Linked DNA regions of Homo sapiens: regions 1 and 3 are each linked to region 2. The links are contacts of gene promoters, found by promoter capture Hi-C in blood cells and fetal thymus (Javierre and others, 2016). All regions are on one chromosome and are shown on one strand. The core of a region is centred on a gene start or on the middle of the fragment in contact, and the rest is flanking DNA. Distances in the headings are between cores, read along the strand shown.

Evidence for each region. The method cuts DNA at HindIII sites, captures the fragments that hold promoters and counts their contacts. A CHiCAGO score of 5 or more calls a contact.
Region 1: a fragment that was not itself captured here is called in contact with the fragment with the promoter of RNF115 in region 2 in 1 of 17 cell types (erythroblasts); the score reaches 5.1 in erythroblasts.
Region 3: a fragment that was not itself captured here is called in contact with the fragment with the promoter of RNF115 in region 2 in 1 of 17 cell types (endothelial precursors); the score reaches 5.5 in endothelial precursors.

What each region holds. Positions count from the first base shown.
Region 1 is chr1:145,891,229-145,893,928 of GRCh38, forward strand. It overlaps ITGA10 (integrin subunit alpha 10), which reads right to left. Exons shown (of 30, transcript NM_003637.5): 28 at 2,312-2,407; 29 at 1,933-2,046; 30 at 1-1,635. The coding sequence ends at 1,570. Among named protein-coding and RNA genes, the nearest start is that of ANKRD35-DT, 6.4 kb to the left of the region's middle. The HindIII fragment of the contact is 8,055 bases long and covers 1-2,700 here.
Region 2 is chr1:145,822,698-145,825,397 of GRCh38, forward strand. It overlaps RNF115 (ring finger protein 115), which reads right to left and starts at 1,398. Exons shown (of 9, transcript NM_014455.4): 1 at 1,075-1,398. The coding sequence starts at 1,176. POLR3C (RNA polymerase III subunit C) reads left to right here and starts at 1,503. Exons shown (of 15, transcript NM_006468.8): 1 at 1,503-1,672. RefSeq lists an enhancer at 1,364-1,763. The HindIII fragment of the contact is 15,759 bases long and covers 1-2,700 here.
Region 3 is chr1:145,752,314-145,755,013 of GRCh38, forward strand. It overlaps RNF115 (ring finger protein 115), which reads right to left. Exons shown (of 9, transcript NM_014455.4): 5 at 665-736. Among named protein-coding and RNA genes, the nearest start is that of CD160, 34 kb to the left of the region's middle. The HindIII fragment of the contact is 5,705 bases long and covers 1-2,700 here.

The DNA.
Region 1 (2,700 bases), core at 17-2,516, 68 kb after region 2:
TTGTTCTGACCATCTGATATACTGTCCACCCCACTGGGAAACAGAGACAATGCCCATGAGGGTGGGCCTCTGCAGAAGGCCAGAGACATGCCAAAATAAATACTGTGGTCAGGCCTCAGGAACAGCCTGGGAGGACAGGTTCTGTGACTGCTAGTCAACCACCCAATCAGGTCTTCTCTCTTCTCAGCTCTTAATGAGTGCTGATTCTTCAAAAGGCTCCCAGAGCTGCACTCTGGAGACCAATAACTGACTTCGATATCTCAAGTCTTGATTACAAAGAAATATAAGTTACCCAGTTGTCTATGAGAATCCAACTGCCTTTACTGTCCATGACCCAAATATGGAGTGGGTTGGGGAGGGATCAGAGATAGAAATTAACCTGGAGATTTCCAGTAAGCATCAAGCAAGGGCTGGCAAACTGATTCCACCAGAGAAACCCTGCAAAATATGACCAGGGTTCTAGGGTTGCCCCAGAAACATTTTCCTAGGAGCTATTTGTGCTACATAACCAGTGCTGAGCAAGTAAGGGCTTGCTCCCCAGAGCCCCATGCCACCCATGTAGGTTTCTTAATGCAGACTCCACACTTTTAGATCCCATGGGGCTGCTGCTTCCCAAAGCTGGTAAAGTGAAAGCATTTCCCATCATCAAGTAGCAGTACTCTCTCTCCTGTCTGCTTTCTAAGCAGGCCCCAAGGAGGGCTCAAGAGTGAGTATAAGACTTGAGAGAAGTAGAGAAAATACTGCCTAGGTACACCCAGTCCTCCCTGCTATTCCAGCTCCAGCCACCTGAGGGCTCCTGGCTTCAGAAAATCAGGCACCAGGCCCTGGCTTTGCTCCCAGAAAAGGCTTGGAATCAGGAAGCCTATGCCCAGCGAGCCTGGGGGCAGCTCTGTTTCACCAACACCTGAGGGCGGTCGAGTGCACTACAGGTCTCAGGTTTCAGGGGGGATGGCAGTTGCCTGTCTAAAGGCTTCTCTGTTCCTTGGAATTGTACAGAATGTCTCTTGTGGCTTTTCCTCCTCCCTCCTTTTTTCCTGTTGACTCTCCCCATCCGGCTCTATGAATCACCAGAGTCCACAGGAAAGCAGCAGATGTTGACTTTACTCCTTTCAAGCCAACGTCAGCTCCCTCCTGTGGAGTGGGGAACAGGCAGGAAAGTGAGAGGGTGGAAGAATCGAGGAAGATAACCCTCATCCTTTCCAAACTGTGAGGGAAGATAAAGAGGGAATCTGAAAGGAGTCAGGCACCTAGGCAAAAAAATTATTGATTCCTGGGGATAAAAGGACCCCAAACAAAAGCCCCAGTGTTGGCTATGGAACCAGGATCACGAGGAGGAGGGAAGCAGAGGGTGGGAGCATGGCTAGTTTTGGTGCCAGCTCTTCTTGTCTGAGGTAAAGCCTCATCTCTAGCCAGCAGCATCCCTAGGACTCAAAAGTCAAGTCAGGCTGCTGGTCTGGGGAGATAGTCCAGAGGCGGCTTCTTGTCCCATCTGAGCCCCCAAACCTCTGCTTTTATGCAAGTCTCTTGAAGAAGCTGCCAGGGAGGACTTTCTAGACCCTTATTCTACATTCATTGCTCCAACTTCTCTTCTCTTTTTTCTTCCTCAGGGATTTTCTTATGGGCAAAGAAGCCAAGCTGTAGAAGAAAAGATAAGCGTCACTGCCAAATGCCTAGACTGGGAACCTTGCCAGTAGCTCTCAGACTTATCTGAGGTCTTCACTTTTGTTCTGTTTCCAAAAATGGAATTCAAATTTATTTTATTTGGCTTAGAATAATTTAACCAACATTTGTGGGGTACAGTGAAGGAGATCTGGGCATGACATCCACAGCCTGGTTAGCTGCCCAGCACAAATCCTGTTCTCTCTGCTATAATCAAGGATCCCTCAACTCATGGGCATCATGCTCCACACTCCCCACTAAAGCAGTGCTTACCTTCCACAGGCAGAAGACAAGGAGAGCAAGCAGGAGCAACCCTCCCAGGACACTGCCTATGAGGATCCACAGGGAGATGAGGATAGGCCGGGTCTGAACCACCTCCAAGAGGCTCTGCGTGGACAGAAGAGTAGTTTTCTACATGCATCCTATAACCCAGCTAGCCTCACCCCACATTATATCAAAGCCAGCCCCCAAATAGAATAAATAACCTCCTGCTACTTAAAGGAAAGAAACTGAGGCAGGAATGGCGGCAGTGGAACACTAGGATCCTGCTGCCTGATGGAGATGCCTTCGTTCTGAAAAAGCCCACGGGTGGCCCTACCACATACCCATCATCATTATTTTCACAGCTCTCAGACTCGGTCTCCAGCCCTACCTCACTCCAACGGGAGGCTTCAGTCAGCTGTAGGACACTGCCCTCTTCGGTTCCCAGCTCAAAGGTGCTGACCACCGTCAGGGACTTGAACTTGGCCTATGGAACAAGTGGATAGGAAGACATTTAAAATGAGCCATTATCAGGTGATATAGTTCTTTGGAATCCCAACAGCAAAGTTGAGGCTGAGAGGCATAATGTTGAGGGCTCTCAAGACCAGAAGAAAAGGCTGAAGACCAATGGGAAAAGAGAGGAAGGGTAATAGATGGAAAACCCCTGGTCACATCTGCTGCTGCTGTTTGTTTTCCAAGGACAATCAATACATCTGGTGCTTTACCTGAAATGCATTCTACTCCTCTTTCCTTTGGCTGACCTCTACCCCTCCTTTAGAT
Region 2 (2,700 bases), core at 148-2,647:
ACAACCCAACCCAAAACAGTTTCTGGGTTTGTGATGCTGGTGCTGGCTAGTATGCTGCATAAATGTTGTTTGTTTTTGTAGAGAGGGGTCTCACTCTGTTGCCCAGGCTGGTCTCAAACTCCTGGCCTCAAGCAATCCTCCTGCCTCGTCCTCCCAAAGCACTGGGATTACAGACCTAAGCCACCGCGCCTGACCTACAAAAGTGTTTTCTTCCCAACCACAGCACTGCCTCTCAAGGGGCTAACACTCTGGCAGAAACTCGTGAAAACCAATTTCACGTCAGAGGAAGCATCCCCAACATTCTGTCCCGGCTCTTTTTCTTAGGTGAAGAAAGGGACAGGGCGGGGGGCGGAACAATGATATTAAAGACACTGGCAGCATGACAACCAAAATAAACGAAGTTGAAACAGTACGTCCTGCCTTCTTCCTAAAGCCATTTCCTTCAACAGTGATAGGAGTGCAGACCGTCTGCAAGTCATTAGTACGCTGCTGTCTTCACTGTCACAAGGACCCTGGAAACCACTGAAGAGCAAAATCCCCCTTTTCGCCCCACAGATACCTTCCAACCCCCTTTCTGTGCTTCCTTCCCTAGAAAAAACCGAAGAGTGACAATCCTCAGCAATCCGCTATTTCGCTTCACTGACAAGGGAGGTGGCGGGGGCGGTGGGGGGTGAAAAGTGGAAAAGAACACAGAGGAAGGTGAGAAGACACAGTGGAAGAAGTGTGGGGGGAGGTCATCGTAGGAAAAAGACCAGGTATAAAAGAATGCAAGAAAATTGAGGGGAGAGTTATCAGAGGGAAACTTGCTAAGAAAAAAAAAAATTAAGGACACGGGAGGTAAAGAGGTGAGGTCAGGTGGAGCAGCCCAGGATGAATTAAGAGGTGGGCAGGAGGTACGGGGCCGAGGCCGTGATGCCCAGGGTTTAGGGCCGGCGGCTTAGAAGTGGGCAGCAGGTATTCGGCAGACCGATGTCGGGCGAGTCAATGATGTGCAGAAAGCTCCAGACCCAGTTCCGGGAAATCGGGGCCAGGAATCTATGAGGTTCCCAAGTATAGAGAACACAGCGCTCTTACCGGTAGTTTGGGGCTGACCTCGCCCTTGCAAAAGTGGCAGAAAAACCGGTGGGCGGCTACAGCGGCGCCCGAGTCCGCCCCGGCCGCCGAAGCCTCCGCCATTTTTGCCCTCCGCCGCGGCCGTCCGAGAGGGCAGCCGGCCCGTCCCTCGCCAGGCCGCTACCTCCCGAGCTGCAGTCGTCGCCGCCGCCGCCGCCTCGGTGCGGCCCACCGCTTCAGAGCCCGCGTCGGTCACGTGAGTTGGCCAGGCCCAGAAACGCGGCGGCGCCAACAGCTACCCTGCGGCCCGCCTCCCAGCACCAAAGAGGCGCAGGAAGGAGAGACAAACGGCCCGCCCGCCGGCTCCACAAACAGCCCCTCGCTGGTCCTCCAGTCTTCCAGCGAGAAGAAAGAAAGAGCGTCCCCGGAAGCCGCCGAAACTCTGGGGTAGAGTGGCACGCGCTTTTTGCTTTTCCGCGTCTTCTTCGGTGGCGATCCGCGTCCTAGAAAGGGCGGTGGGCTCCACCTCGGCCTAGAAGGCCAGCGGGAGCCGTAGGAAGCCGTCGCGGGAAGCTCAGCCGAATTGGAGTTGGAGCCCCCGGATTGCGCTGACCCTGAGGTTAGTGGAAAATGCTGTCTGAACGTGGCGGCACTGACTGGACCAAGAGACCACGTCCGAAACGGGAACCTGTGTAAAGGAAGTGTAGAGCTAGGAGCCAAGCGCCTTGGAAGCCCTTTCCGAGGATGGCAAAGGATCTGGGAATGCTTCTCCAAAGATATGTGGATGGACGAAATAGGTCTCTGGTGATACTGAGGCGGGGTGGGGACGGGGAGGCAAAGACTTGGCTTCTTAGGAATTGGAAGAAATAAGTAAACAATGTTTGGTAGCAATTTGTAATAAGGAAGTAATCATAAAATTAACTACGTCCGTTTCTGATTGTGTCAACTTTGTCAAGGAGTAGAAGTTTAAGAATTGAATACTGTCCTGCAAACAACGTAACCTCATCTCCTGTTTGACACACCCTGTTGAGAAGCAGTCCTTTACCTCCTAAATTTCTTTTTCGAAATTATCATTTCCTTTATGGACTGAGAATAACACTGCCTGTTCACTCCCACCGAGCTGTGAACAGTGACCTTAATTCTTCCAAGCAGTGAAGTGTAGAAACTAAGGTCTGTGACAGACCGCAAAATCATCTCCCAATCTTTAAGGAAAATCAGAATCACGCATAATCCCATAGAGATAAATTTGATGCATAGTCTTTTCCTATGCATACATTTTTCCTTTTTTTTTACAATAATTGAATTTTTATATTTTTTCAGCTTGCTTCTGTCACTTAATATATTATGAGTAATTTTTTTTGTTTTTTTTTGTTTTGGAGACAGAATCTCGCACTGTCGCCCGGGTTGGAGTGCAGTGGCGCGATCTCGGCTCACTGCAACCTCTGCCTCCCGGCTTCAAGCGATTCTCCTGTCTCAGCCTCCCTAGTAGCTGGGATTACAGGCACCCGCCACCACGCCCAGCTAATTTTTTTGTGTGTTTTTAGTAGAGAAGGGGTTTCACTATATTGGCCAGGCTGGTCTCAAACTCCTGACCTCATGATACGCCCACCTCGGTCTCCCAAAGTGCTAGGATTACAGGCCTGAGCC
Region 3 (2,700 bases), core at 129-2,628, 70 kb before region 2:
AGTAAAATATTCCTGTGTAGTCTACTGGGGAAACCCACAAATCAGATACCAAGCCTGGCAGGGACCATCTCATTCTCTACCTCAATACAACTCTCAGACCTGAATATAAAAGGAATCAAGACATTTCTAGCACCCAAACATCCTGGGGGACCAGGACGGCCTTCCTGAGCCTGAATAATAATAAAAAAAAAAGTTCTGATTAAGTTTGGGCTTAGCAGATAATGGCAGTGTAGCAGCCTCCAGTTACATCTACATACTCACCTATGCAGCTCTTTTTTTTTTTTTTTTTTTTTGAGACAGGGTCTCTTTCTGTCGCCCAAGCTGGAGTACAGTGGCGCGATCTCGGCTCACTGCAACCTCCACCTCCCGGGTTCAAGTGATTCTCCTGCCTCAGCCTCCGAGTAGCTGGGACTACAGAAGCATGCCACCACGCCTGGCTAATTTTTTATATTTTTAGTAGAGACGGGGTTTCACCATGTTAGCCAGGATGGCCTCGATCTCCTGACCTCGTGATCCGCCAGCCTCGGCCTCCCAAAGTGCTGGGATTAGAGGCATGAGCCACCGCACCCGGCCTATGCAGCTCTTTTTCTCTACTGCACAGAAATGACAGCACCTAAAATATGTCACTCCAATAGAGTAAGATAGAAAACAATTAGTTACTTACCAGGAAAAAGGGTGTGGAGATCCAGGAATGGCAGAATTTGCAAAGAATCCTGCAAAGATGTGTTGTAGTATTCTGTTACAGAAGAAAAAATTAGATAAGACAACAGACTAATGAAAAGTACTCTACAGATATCCATGGCTGCCTAATCACCAACTAATTCCCTAAACCAAAATGGCTTTTCATTGGCTAGTACACAAGAGACAGCATCAGAAATCAGCCTGCCACACAGCGGTGTGCTATTTTGCTATTATGGCTATCTTCCTGAGCTCTGCTATCTTACAGATTAATAGATTTTTGTGAATTAAGCTGGAAAGGGATCTGATGGTATGGTATAGTTTTTCAAACTATGTTCCCTGAATATCTGACATCAACATAAGGAAGGGTTAAAAGGGATGCCGAGCCAGTGGAACTCTGGACCCACCTCCCTTTAACAAGGGTAGTTCCATTTTTGTATGTTGTACACATTGGGTTTCTGAATAAGATATCATTTAAAGAGTCCTTTAAAAAAAAGTTTAAGCAATAATTCTATGTTAAGGTTGTTTCAGATGATTATAACACAAACACATATAAACACACACATGCTTAGCATTTGTCACTCTGAATACTTAAGATGGCACAGGTACACAGTTCTTTACACGAATGAGTCTTTGTTACCCAAAGAGATACTGGAGTGATGCCTCAGCAAAAGAAAAACCTGAAGAAATTGTTTCACTGGATCTTCTGTGTTCTGGATGATATGCAATTTTTTTTCTTTTTTGAGACAGAGTCTCGCTCTGCCGCCCAGGCTGGAGTGCAGTGGAGCGATCTCGGCTCACTGCAACCTCTGCCTCCCAGGTTCAGGCAATTCTCCTGCCTTAGCCTCCCGAGTAGCTGGGATTATAGGCACCTGCCACCACACCCGGCTAATTTTTTGTATACTTAGTAGATTTAGTAGAGATGGGGTTTCACCATGTTGACAAAGCTGATCTTGACCTCCTGACCTCAGCCTCCCAAAGTGCTGGGATTACAGGTGTGAGCCACCACGCCCAGCAATGATATGCAATTTTAAGTCCCTGGTTCCCACTTTACTTATTAGGCCAATTAATATAACAATGGCAATAGCCAACATTAGACTTTCCCTGCTACTAAAGTTCAACAGCAGCTAACTACACTATTCCGTTTGTTTGCTTGCTTTTTTGTATTATTTTTCATTATTTATTTTTAACTGACAAAAATTGCATATATTATGGTATATAACATATTTTGAAATATGTATGCATTGTGGAATGACTACATCAAACTATCAACATATGCATTACCTCACAAACTTATTTGCAACAATAACCCTTAAAATCTACTCTCTCAGCAATTTTCAGATGTACAAAACACTGGTTGTTTTTTTTTTTTCTTTTTTTGAGATGAAGTCTTGCTCTGTCACCTAGGATGGAGTGCAGAGGCACCATCTCAGCTCACTGCAACCTCCATATCCCAGGTTCAAGCAATTCTTGTGCTTCAGCCTCCCAAGTAGCTGGGATTACAGATGCACACCACCACGCCTGGCTAATTTTTGTATTTTTAGTAGAGATGGGGTTTCACCATGTTGGCCGGGCTGTCAAGTAATCCGCCCGCCTTGGCCTCCCAAAGTGCTGGGATTATAGGCATGAGCCACCCCACCTGGCTGAAAACATTGTTATTAACTACTGTCACCCACGTTGTACAACAGATCTCTTGAACTTTTAACTAAAATTTTGTATCCTTCAACATCTCTCTAATCCACCCCCTCTGCCCCACAGCTCCTAGTAACTACCATTCTATTCTCTGCTTCTATGAATTCATTGTGTTTTCTTTTTTTTAGAATGCTTCGTGTTGTTTTAAAAATATGTCCAAAAATTATTTGATAATCTTCCCTTCAGTGTGGGCTGGACTTAGTGACTCACTTAACAATAGAATATGGCAGAATTGATAATCTGTGACTTCCAAGACAAGGTAAAAAAAAGTGGGGGAAATGGCCGGGTGTGGTGGCTCTTGCCTATAATCCCAGAACTTTGGGAGGCTGA